Regions from separate parts of the Homo sapiens genome. Here region 1 is linked to region 2. Evidence: promoter capture Hi-C in 16 types of primary human blood cells and fetal thymus (Javierre and others, 2016). All regions are on one chromosome and are shown on one strand. Each heading gives the region's core, a stretch centred on a gene start or on the middle of the fragment in contact. The rest is flanking DNA. Distances are from core to core; before and after follow the strand shown.

The links. Contacts are between HindIII fragments. The CHiCAGO score rates a contact against its expected background, and 5 or more counts as called.
Region 1: a fragment that was not itself captured here is called in contact with the fragment with the promoter of NTNG1 in region 2 in 3 of 17 cell types (total CD4 T cells, total CD8 T cells and non-activated CD4 T cells); the score reaches 11.4 in total CD4 T cells.

What each region holds. Positions count from the first base shown.
Region 1 is chr1:101,514,342-101,519,896 of GRCh38, forward strand. No RefSeq gene overlaps it. Among named protein-coding and RNA genes, the nearest start is that of LINC01709, 120 kb to the right of the region's middle. The HindIII fragment of the contact is 6,534 bases long and covers 1-5,435 here.
Region 2 is chr1:107,138,048-107,143,709 of GRCh38, forward strand. NTNG1 (netrin G1) reads left to right here and starts at 2,992. Exons shown (of 8, transcript NM_001113226.3): 1 at 2,992-3,093. RefSeq lists an enhancer at 2,632-3,163 and silencers at 3,097-3,386, 3,407-3,686. The HindIII fragment of the contact is 6,022 bases long and covers 1-4,692 here.

The DNA of each region.
Region 1 (5,555 bases), core at 919-3,418, 5.6 Mb before region 2:
ATTAAAATTGATATATATGTACATATTTATGGGGTACATGTGAAAATTTAATACATTCATATAATGTGTACAGATCAAATCAGTGTAATTATGATATCTACCATCTTAAATATTTATCTTTTCTTTATGTTAGAAACATTCAAATCATTCTTTTCTAGTTTTTGAAATATATAATAGATTATTGTAAACTGTAGTCCAGTTGGTATCTATCAAACACTAGGTCTTATTTCTTCTATCAAACTGTATATTTATACCCATTATTTAAACTCTCTTCATCCTCCCTCTCTCCTACCCTTCCTGGCTTCTGGTAACCACCAATCTACTCTCTATCTTCATGAGATCCACTTTTTTAGCTCCCATATTTGAACAAGAACATGCGATATTTATCTTTCTGTGATTGTCTCATTTCACATAATGACCTCCACTTCCATCTATGTGGTTGCAAGTGACAGGATTTCATTCCTTTTTATGGGTCAGTAATATTTCATTGTGTATCTATACCACATTTTCTTTATTCATCCATCTATGGGCACACTGGTTGATTCCATATTTTGGCTATTGTGAATAGTGCTGCAATGAACATGGGAATGCAGATATGTCTTCAATATATTTATTTTCTTTCTTTTGGATATATATGCAGTAGTGAAATTGCTGGACCATATACTAGTTCTATTTTAAGTTTTTTGAGAAGCCTCCATACAGGCTGTACTCCATACAGCTGCCTTACTAATTTATACACACAGCAACAGTGTATGAGGGTTGCCCTTTCTACACACCCTCACCAGCATTCATTACTCCCTGTGTTTTTGATAAATCTTTGCCCAGAACAATGTCCTGGAGCATTTCCCCAGTGTTTTCTTCTAGTATTTTTGTAGTTTCAGGTTTTGCATTTAAGTCTTTAATCCATTTTGATTTGATTTTCATATGTGGTGAGAGATAGGGGTCTAATTTCATTTTTGTGCATATAGTTATCTAGTTTTCCCAATACCATTTATTGAAGAGAATGTCTTTTCTCCATTGTATGTTCTTGGCACCTTTGTCAAAGATGAGTTGGCTATAAATACATGCATTTACGTCTGGGTTCTCTATTTTGTTCTGTTGGTCTATATGTCCTTTTATGTCAGTACCATACTTATTTGGTTACTTTGTAGTACATGTTGTAGTGTATTTTGAAGTCAAATCGTATGATGCCTCCAGCTTTGTTCTTTTGATTCAGGATTGCATTCGCTATTTGGGGTATTTTGTGGTTCTTTATGAATTTTAGGATTGTTTTTTCTATTTCTGTGAAGAATAACGTTGGTATTTTGGTAAAGATTGCTTTAAATTTGTAGAGTGCTTTGGGTAGAATTGTCATTTCACAATATTAATTCTTCCAATCTGTGAGCATGTAATGTATTTCTATTTTTTCATGTCCTCTTCAATTTCTTTTATCAGTGTTTTAAAGTTTTCCTTGTACAGATGTTTCACTTTGGTTAAATTGATTCCTAGGTATTTTATATTATTTGTAGTTGTGTTAAATGGAATTGCTTTCTTGGTTTATTTTTCAGATTGTTTTCTGTTGGCATATATAAATGCTGCTAATTTTTGTATGTTAATTTTGTATTCTGCAAGTTTAACAAATTTATCAGTTAAATTTAACAGTTTTTTTGATGGAATCTTTAGGTTTTTCTAAGTATAACATTATGTCATCTGCAAATAGAGACAATTTGATTTCCTCTTTTCCAATTTGTATAAGTTTTATTTATTTTCCTTGCTTAATTGCTTTGGTCAGTACTTCCAGTATTATGTTGAATAAAAGTAAGAAAGGGCTAGGCACAATGGCTCATGATTGTAATCCCAGCATTTTGCGGGGGGGGGGGCAAGGTGGGAGGATTGTTTGAGTCCAGGGTTCAAGACCAGCCTGGCAACATTGTGGGACCCTGTCTCCACAGAAAGTTAAAAAAAAAATTTAGCTGGGTGTGGTGGCATGCACCTGTGGTCCCAGCTACTAGGGAGGCTGAGGTGAAAACATTGCTTTAGGCCAGAAGTTTGAGGCTGCAGTGAGCCATGATCACACCACTGCACTCCAGCCTGGGTGACAGAGTGAGACCCCATCTCTATTTAAAAAAAAAATTAATGAAGGTGGATGTCCTTGTCTTCTTCTAGATTTTAGAGAAAAGTCTTTTAATTTTACCTGTTTAATATGATGTTAGCTGTGGGTTTGTCATAGATAGTCTTTATTATTTTGAGATATGTTCCGTTTATACCCACTTTGTTGAGAGTTTTTATCAGAAAGAATGTTGAATTTTACTGAATGCTTTTTTGGCACCTATTGAAATGATCATAGTTTTTGTCCTTGATTGTATTAATGTAATGTATTAGTCGGTTCTCACACTGCTATGAAGAACTACCTGAGACTGGGTAATTTATGAAGAAAAGAGGTTTAATTGACTCACAGTTCCGCACGCTGTACAGGAAACATGGCTGGCAGGCCTCAGGAAACTTACAATCATGATGGAAGGGTGAAGGGGAAGCAAGCACATCTTCACATGGCAGCAGGGGAGAGAGAGAGTGAAGGGGGAAGTGCTACACACTTTTAAGCAACCAGATCTCATGATAACTCAGCCACTATCATGAGAACAGCAAGGGGGACCTATGCCCCCATGCTCCAGTCACCTCCCACCAGGTCCTTCCCCCAACATTGGGAATTACAATTCAGTATGAAATTTGGGTAGTGACACAAAGCCAAACCATATAATGTGATGTATCATGTTTATTGATTTATGTATGTTGAACAATCCTTGCATCTCTGGGATGAATCCCATTTGATCACAGTGTGTGCTTTTTTAAGTGTGTTGTTGAATTTGGTTTGTTAGTATTTTATTGAGGATTTTTGTGTTTATGTTCGTCAGGGATATTGGCCTGTAGTTTTCTTTCTTTTGTTATGTTTTTGCCTGATTTTAGTATCAATGCTGGCCTCATAGAATGAGTTTAGAATATTCTCTCCTCTTTGATTTGTTTAAAGATTTTGAGTAGAGTTGGCATTAGATTTCAAAAATGTATTTGGTAGAATTCTGTGGTAAAGCCATCAAGTCCTAGGCTTTTCTTTTATGGGAGACTTTTTATTATGGCTTCAATCTTGTTATTTGTTGCTGGTTTGTTAAGGTTTTCTATTTATTCATGGTTCAATCATAGTAGGTTGCATGCGTTCAGGAATTTATCCATTTCTTCTAGGTTTTCTAATTTGTTGACATATAGTTGTTCATAATAGTTGTTAATGATTCTTTTTATTTTTGTGATCTCTGTTGTTGTGTCTCCTTTTTTGGCTTCTGAATACATTTATTTGATCTTCTCTCTTTTTTTTTTCTTAATCTAGCTAAAGGTTTGCCAATTTTGTGTGTCTTTTAAAAAATCAAGTTTTCACTTTGTTGATTATCTGCCTTTAGTTTCAATTTTGTTTATTTCTGCTCTGATTTTTATTATTTCTTTCCTTCTACTAATTTTGGGTTTGATTTGTTTTTGCTTTTCTAGTTCCTTAAGGTGCATCATTAGGTTGTTTATTTGAAGTCTTTCTACCTTTTTGATATAGGTATTTATTGATACAAACTTCCCTCTCAGTACTACTTCTGCTGTATCCCATAGATTTTGCTATGTTGTATTTCCATTTTTAATTGTTTAAAAAATGTAAATTTATTTCTTAATTTCTTCATTGACCTATTGCTCATTCAGGAGTAAGTTGCTGAATTTCAAAATGTTTCTGTATTTTATGAGGTTTCCCTTGTTAACAATTTTTAGTTCAATTCAATTGTAGTCAGAAAGATACTTGATATAATTTCTACTTTTTTGGAATTTGCTGAGACTTGTTTTGTGGCCTAATATATGGTCTATTCTGGAGAATGTTTTAAGTACTCATGAAAAGAATGTGAATTCTATATCAGTTGCGTATATTGTTCTGTAAATGTCAATTAGGCTAATTTGGTCTATTGTGTAGCTTAACTCCAATGTTTATTTGTTGATTTTCTGTTGGGATGATCTGTCCATTACTGAGACTGGGGTATTGAAGTCCCCTACTGTTATTGTATTGCCATCTGTCTCTCTCTTCCTTTAGATCTATTAATGTTTACTTATATACTTGGTGCTCCAGTGTCAGATAAAGAGATATTTATAACTGTTATACCCTTTTACTGAATTGACCCTTTTATCATTATATATAGTGACCTTCTTTGTCTTTTTTTTACAGTCTTTGATTTGTAGTCTACTGTATCTCATATAAATGTAGCTACTCTTGCTTGTTTTTTATTTCCAGTTGCATGGATTATCTTTTTTAACTCCTTCAGCTTTAGTCTATGTGTATCTTTAGAGATGAAGTGGGTTTCTTGTAGGAAGAATATAGTTGGGGCTTCTTTATTCATTCAGCCATTCTATGCCTTTTAATTGGAGAATTCAGTCCATTTACACTGTGTTGTTATTGACAAGTAAAGACTTACTACTATCATTTTGTTGTCTATTTTCTGGTTGTTTTGTAATTCTTTTCTTTCTTTCTTCTTTTTTTAACTGTCTTCCTTTGTGGTTAAGTGATTTTCTTTGATAGTGTGTTTTAATTCATTCTTATTTTTAGTGAATCTATTATAGGTTTTTGCATTTGTGGTTATCATGAGACTTAGAAAATCCATCTTATAGATAAAATAAATTATTTTAAAGAGATAAAAACTTAGATCACAAAGAATGTTAAAAAAAGCAAAAATGCAAAAATTCTACATTTTAACTTCTGTCCCCCATTTGACTTTAAGTTGTCTTGATTTACATATTTTTATATTGCCAATCTCTTAACAGGTTACTGTTGGTATTATGGTTTTTTGTAGATTTGCCTTTGGGGCTTCACACTAGAGTTATGAATAGATTGTACACCTGTTGCAGTAGTAGAGTATTCTGTGATTTTCTATGTACTTAATTATACCGGTGGGTTTTATACTTTGAAAAATTATCTGTTTGCATGTTAATGTTTTTTTTTTTCCCTTCCAGATTGAAGGACTGTCTGTAGCATTTTTTGTAAGACGGGTCTGGTGGTGGTAAATTCTCTCAGCTTTTGATTGTTGAGGAAAAACCTTTCATATTTGAAGATAGATTTGATGAATACAGTATTCTTGGAGGGTAGTTTTTTCTTTCATTACTTTGAAAATATTGTCCCACTACTTCCTGGCCTGTATGGTTTCCACTGAGAATTGTGTCACCAGATGAATTGGAGCTTTGTTTATATATTATTTGCTTTTCTTCCTCTTTCTGCTTTTAGGATGCTTTCTATCACTTTAGCTTTAGAAAGTTGAATTGTTATAGGTCTTGTGGTAGTCTAATTTGGGTTGAATCTGTTTGGTGTTTTCTGACCTTCCTGTTCCTGGATATTTATCTCTTTCTCACATTTAGAAAGTTTTCTGTTATTGTTTTTTTCTCTTTGAATAAGCTTTCTACCCCTTGTTCTTGCTCAACTGCCTCTTGAAAATTAATAATTCTTAGATTTGGTCTTTTGAAGTAATTTTCTAAATTTTATGAAATATTTTCATGCTTTTCATTCTTTTTTC
Region 2 (5,662 bases), core at 1,742-4,241:
AAATATGCAAAGGTATATTGAGGAAAGCTGGTTTAATATATGCACGTTAGTTTGGGGAAGTATATCAAATCCACTTAAACTGCTTTTTTGGAGAAAAAGTCCTTACCACCTGATTGCTGCTGGAGGAGAGAACAAGATCTGGAAGGGAAGGGGTTTTAATGTTGAAAAGTCTCTGATGATTCTGATTTACTTCCTTGAGTTTAGATCCACATGTTTAGTTGGTGATTCACTGAGCTTCTGCAAAGGTCAGAGCACATGTTCCACAGAAAAACTCACCTCTGAAAGACTCTCCCACTCCTGTAGTGGGAGGTGTTACCTAACTGGAGAGGTTCCCATTTACATATCACACTTACTTGGGATTGCCTCATAGTCAAAGGAATCCTGGGAATGAGGGATGATACAGGAAGAGAGGAAGGGAGGTCAGTTCCAAGATTTTGACAGATGAAAACAAGTATTTTTCCAGGTTGGGAGCCAAAATCACAAAGATCTTGGTATATTCCAGAAGAGAGTTCTCTAATCTCTGCATAGATTTATTTTATTTTTACTACAGAAGGGCCTTAAATGACCAGATAAAGCAGAGGATGAGAGTTCAGAAAGGCTTTCTTGGCTTGAGAGAGAAGGGCAAGAGAGAGGAAAGGCTGAGAACTGTCTGTATTTCAGGATCTAGGCCAAGGGGCCAACGAGAAATAAGAAGGCCACTCTTGGTATTGTTTATTATATCCTATTGCAAAGGGCTCCCATAGAAAGAACTGGGATCTAAGGGCCTGTGAAGGAGGATTAGGTGGTGAGTAACATCTCCATATAGTCAGTATGTTTTAAACCTGGAGGAGCATGGCTAGAGACAGGGGGAAGAGCCAGACTTGGCCACTGTCTAAGAACCCTTGGTAGGAGTTTCAGCCCTGCAGGTAACTCTTTTTTGCAATGTCAGCACTACAGGACAAAGGTGGGAAAGAGGAAAGCACATGAATCCCAGATTCCTGCACTCAGAGATTCCGAAGGCGACTTATTGTGGCCTCTTAGGTGTTAGAGGGAAGGCTGGGGGTGCCTGAAATCCCTGCCCACTTCCTGGCTGCCCAGGGCCAAGGAGGGCCTGGTTATAGGCCCAACTCAACAAACTTCTCCCCCATCCATCCTTTTACCACACCACCCCCAGTCATCACAGAAAAATGACCCAATTACTCAGCCTCCTGCCTTAATTGTGGGACACATAGTGACTAAGTGTTCACAATTGCCCATTTCTTCCACCCCCCCCCCACCCGCCACTTTGCCTTGACCAAACATGAGTCAGGCTTCTCTCCAGCAGGTCCCTGGAATTTAGCTTGCCCCCCAAATCTGAGCAAGAACTAAAATGTGAAACATTCACCATTGTTAGCTTATCTTCCAAATTCTTGGACCACAGAGACACATTTCTTGTTCAACCAAGAGGGTCTTGAAGTGAGTTGTTTCCCCCATCCACTTGGCTTTGCCTATTGCTTGCTCCCCCTTATATATATAGAAAAAAAAGGCCGATTTCTGTTTGGTTTTGAGAGGTTTGCAGATTTCTGAGATCAGAGCGTTTTCCCTGTTGCAATAGTCTTTCTTTCTAATGGAAGTCTCCCTATCTTATCTAAATTCGGATTTGTTTCTGTTTGACGTTAATGTGTAGCTAAGAGTGATCCCAGGTGAGTCTGAGCCCGCCTTGGTGGGGAATGAAGCCTGGAGCATCGGAGCATTTGTCTTTCTCTTAGAAAAGGCAAGGAAGCCTGAAATGCGCAGCTCTCCCTTGAACTTCAACTTTTTAAAGGGGAATGAATTTCTAAAGGAGGAGTTTCCAGTCTAGGGCTGTAGGGGCCTCCGGGCAAAGGAAGTGCTTGTTGAAAAACAACATTGTGATCACTTCCAGCGGCGAAGGGTGTGCTTGGGAACGGTTTGGGGAGGGGACAGAAGAGAGAGGGGTGGGATGGACGGCGGCAGAAGTGGGAGGTACACGAGGAGTTACTGGAAACGGCGCTTCTGTGGAGGAGCCGGGGGGGATGGGGAGTAGAGGGAGGGGGCCCTGTTGCCTCAGCGCCCCGAGGTCGTGGAGCGGCAGCAGCTGCAGCCGGAGCAGCACCAGCAACAGCAACAGCGAGCGGGACGGAGTTAGGACCGCTCGGAGCGCACAGGTCTCGAGGTAGTATAAGGTTTGCTATCCTTCCACTTGCTGGCAGTTGCAGAAGAAGATCTGCTTTTTAAGTGAAACGTACATGCCACCCCTCCGAGGGCTGCGGCTTCCCCGGGCTTGCTTCTTTGCCGCTCCTCTTTCCGGCTCTCGCGCTCACTCTTTAATTGGCACTGGCCCCTAAGTTTGCCAGGAGCTCGCTGCCCGCTCGGAGCAGGGTCCCGGCCGGGAGCCGCTGGTGGGGGCGGGGAGTCCGGGAGCCGCAATCCAGAAGCGTCGTGGGCCATGTATATTTCATCAAACGGACTTTGGGTGCGTCGCGTCTCACTGCCATCAGTGCTATGTGCAGTGACATTTCTGACTTGAGTGGAGGAATGCGCGAAGGAAACCCGGGCGAAATTGGTATTAGAGGATCTTCTTGGCGCCAATGCTAATTGTCCTGATTTATGCCCCTTCTGACTAAGCTCAACGTCTTCATCTGAAATAAAATGAAAGCGGTGCCAAGCGGCATAGAACCGCCTGGCCGCTGGTTCTGATCCCCGGGAACCAGAAAATCGTCCTGCGGCTTGAAAAAAAAAAAAAGAGGAAAAAAAAAAGAAATAGAAATAGAAAAAAGAAAAAATATCCCTCAGTAAAAGTTTAAGGCGAGAAGTGTCAGAGGCAGCGGAGCGAGGAGGCGCGGAGGAGAGCCGGCGAGCAGGGGACTGGGCTGGCACGACCTCCGAAGGCTGAGATCTCATTATTAATATCACTATATTTTTGGAGGGAGAGGCACCTTTCTCATCCTCTCTTCCTCTCCGCCCACCCTTACTCCCTCCCCCTCATCTACCTGTCAAAGTCACTGATCTTTTGCATTTCGGAAGAGGACGTCAACGGGAAGGAATTCCCCCTCTGGGTGCGGGCTCCGAGAGGGGGCGACTTGCAGGAGGCTCCCCCCGGGGGCGGAGGCGAAGGTAATTAAGCGGCGGGGAGTGGCGGGCCGGCGCTGGGTTCTCGGTCCTCGGGGTCCTCTCCCGCCGGCGGCCGGGCGCGATCGGAATCCCCGGGCTGCGGCGGTGGCGGCGGCTCGGGTCCTCACGCCCACCCCTCCCGCTCCGCCCGCTCCCGCCTGGGGAGGAGGCTCCGCGGGAGCTGCCGCCCTCCGCCCGTACGCCGCCCGCGGGCTCCGCTGCTGCGGCCGCCGCCCGAGGCGGACCAGGCTGGCTGCGCAGGGCCGCCGCCCCGCGCCGTCGGCTCGGCTCCCGCCCGGCGCAAGGGCAAACGAGCCACACGGTAAGTGCCTGCGGCTCGCCTCTCCTACTGCGACCCGAGCCTCTCGCCCGTGCCCCTCTCCCCCGGGTTTCCCCACCCCCCGCCGCCCCCCGCCCCACCCGCTGCGATGCACAGGCGGGAGGGAAGGCTCCGGGTGGGCGAGGAACTTTGTAAAGCGCCCCGAGGAGGCAGCGCGCGGAGCCCTACGCGCACACACAGCGGCACACGCTCACACCCACACACAAGTCTTCCCGGGGGTGCGCCCCGGGCCGGTGATGCGTCCTCTTGTTGTGTCCGGAGCCCAGGCGTGGGGTCTGAGCCTCCATCCGCCGACTGACAGGGGCCCCGCGCTCTCCCTCTCTCACGCACACCTGGCCACACACATCGCTCAGGCGGCTTGTCGTTATTTTTTCTTTCTTTCGCCAATTATATTTGTTTGGGGAAAAGCAAACAAAAAAAACAAAAAAACACTTGCCCTATTGCCGGCCTTGGGGATCTGGTGGCCACATCGAGAGCTTTTGAAGTCCCTTCTTTTAATCGCCTTTATTGGTGCTAGATTAAAACATTACTATCCCATGTTGTGCAGCTGGGGAGAAAGGGAAATTGAAAGAGGAAGACTTGGTGTAGGGATGCTGTTTGGAATATTCTCTCATATTCTTTACTGGCATCATATTAATCGGTTGATGGATTCGGCTAGGGACACTGAATTGCACTCCTGTATGGATCTGTGGATATCTATATATAATACAAATAATACTGAATATTATTGGGCCTAAAATAACCAATTAAGTGATTCATACAAGGAAAAACTTAGATATAAAAAGAAACTGCGCCCTCTGCTGTTAATTTTAGTACCCTCACCCGGGGACTTTTTTTTTTTTTCCTTCAGAAATCCACTTAAGAGTAGGCTGTCATCTTACAGGGCAAGGGAAGAAAATTCCTAGCGGGGATTTTAAAGCAACTTTACTTGGAAAAGTCGCAGGTTGAGCTCCTATAGTTGCATCAGGTACAGATTTCCAGTGAGTAGACGGTCCTCCTCTCTCACCCATTCTTCTCTTTATACAGGGAATAATGGAGCCACTCCTCATAACAAATTGTCAATCTTTGGAATGGAAAATTCTGAGTAAGATTCAGAACTCCACTAAACATATGGTGAATCTGGCAGTAGAATTGCTCTAGAAATAAGGCCCTGTTTTATGACTGAAAATACTAAAAGTTGTTTTATCTTACAGAAATGAAAAAAAAAAAAACCCAGGAAGATCTTCCATTAAAATCACTTATTCAGATATGCTTAGTAGTTAAGCTTGTTGGAAAGTTTTCCAAAAAATAATTTTTTTTTTTTTCAGGGGAGGCTTTTCTGTTTTGTTTGTCCCTTGAGGAGGATCTCTAGTGAGGGAATTAGCAATTCCACATTTCATTAAGTATTTTGAACTGTGTCACTTTGAATGCCTTACCCGCCTCCCTTTCTCTTTGGCAAAGGAAAAGCAGCTCAGTAACTGTCCAAGATTCTTTTTGAAGATAAGCAACTTTCGATTTTTCATTAAGATAAAATTTGGATCTCTGCATGTGGATCAACATGCAAGGAAAAATGTGCATCAAGTATTTCACATGTAATGTTGTTCCAGGGATATATTTTCTTTTCTGGATGCCGTGAAATGAGATATATTTCACCCACTGAAGACCACCATGAAGGCATTCAGGATTCTATATACTGCACTACTAATTTGGTGGTATTTCCTTACTGTGGAATTTAAGACGGATAATCTTAAAACTTTTGCATGGAAACAGTTTATTTGAACATAAAGCTGGTTTCCTGTTAATATTTTTGTTTTGTCAGTTTTCAATGGGTATATGTGTTAAAATGATTCAGGTTAGCCTTTTTAGGAGGAGGCAAATGTATTTTGCAGTTTCCTTTTGTATATTTGCAAGTGGTGCAAATACCTATTTTTGCTTCCATTATTATTCTGAAAAATATTCAGGTAATTTGTTTAAAAAGTTAAACCATTACACATTTATTTGATAGGATTTCTAAGTGTCATAAAAATTTGGAGAGTTTTAGTTACAAAGGCATCAAGTCACTTGGAAAAAAGAAAATTGGATTCAACTTTGAAAACCAATTATATGTTAACATTGAAATATATGTGTGTGAATTATATTGTATAGGAGATTATATTAGTAAAGTCTTAGGTTAGTATGAGATTTAGCATACTTTAAAAAATAATTTTATTTGCAGAATCCAAAGTTCTGTTTCAAAACTTCAGGTAGGTGTAG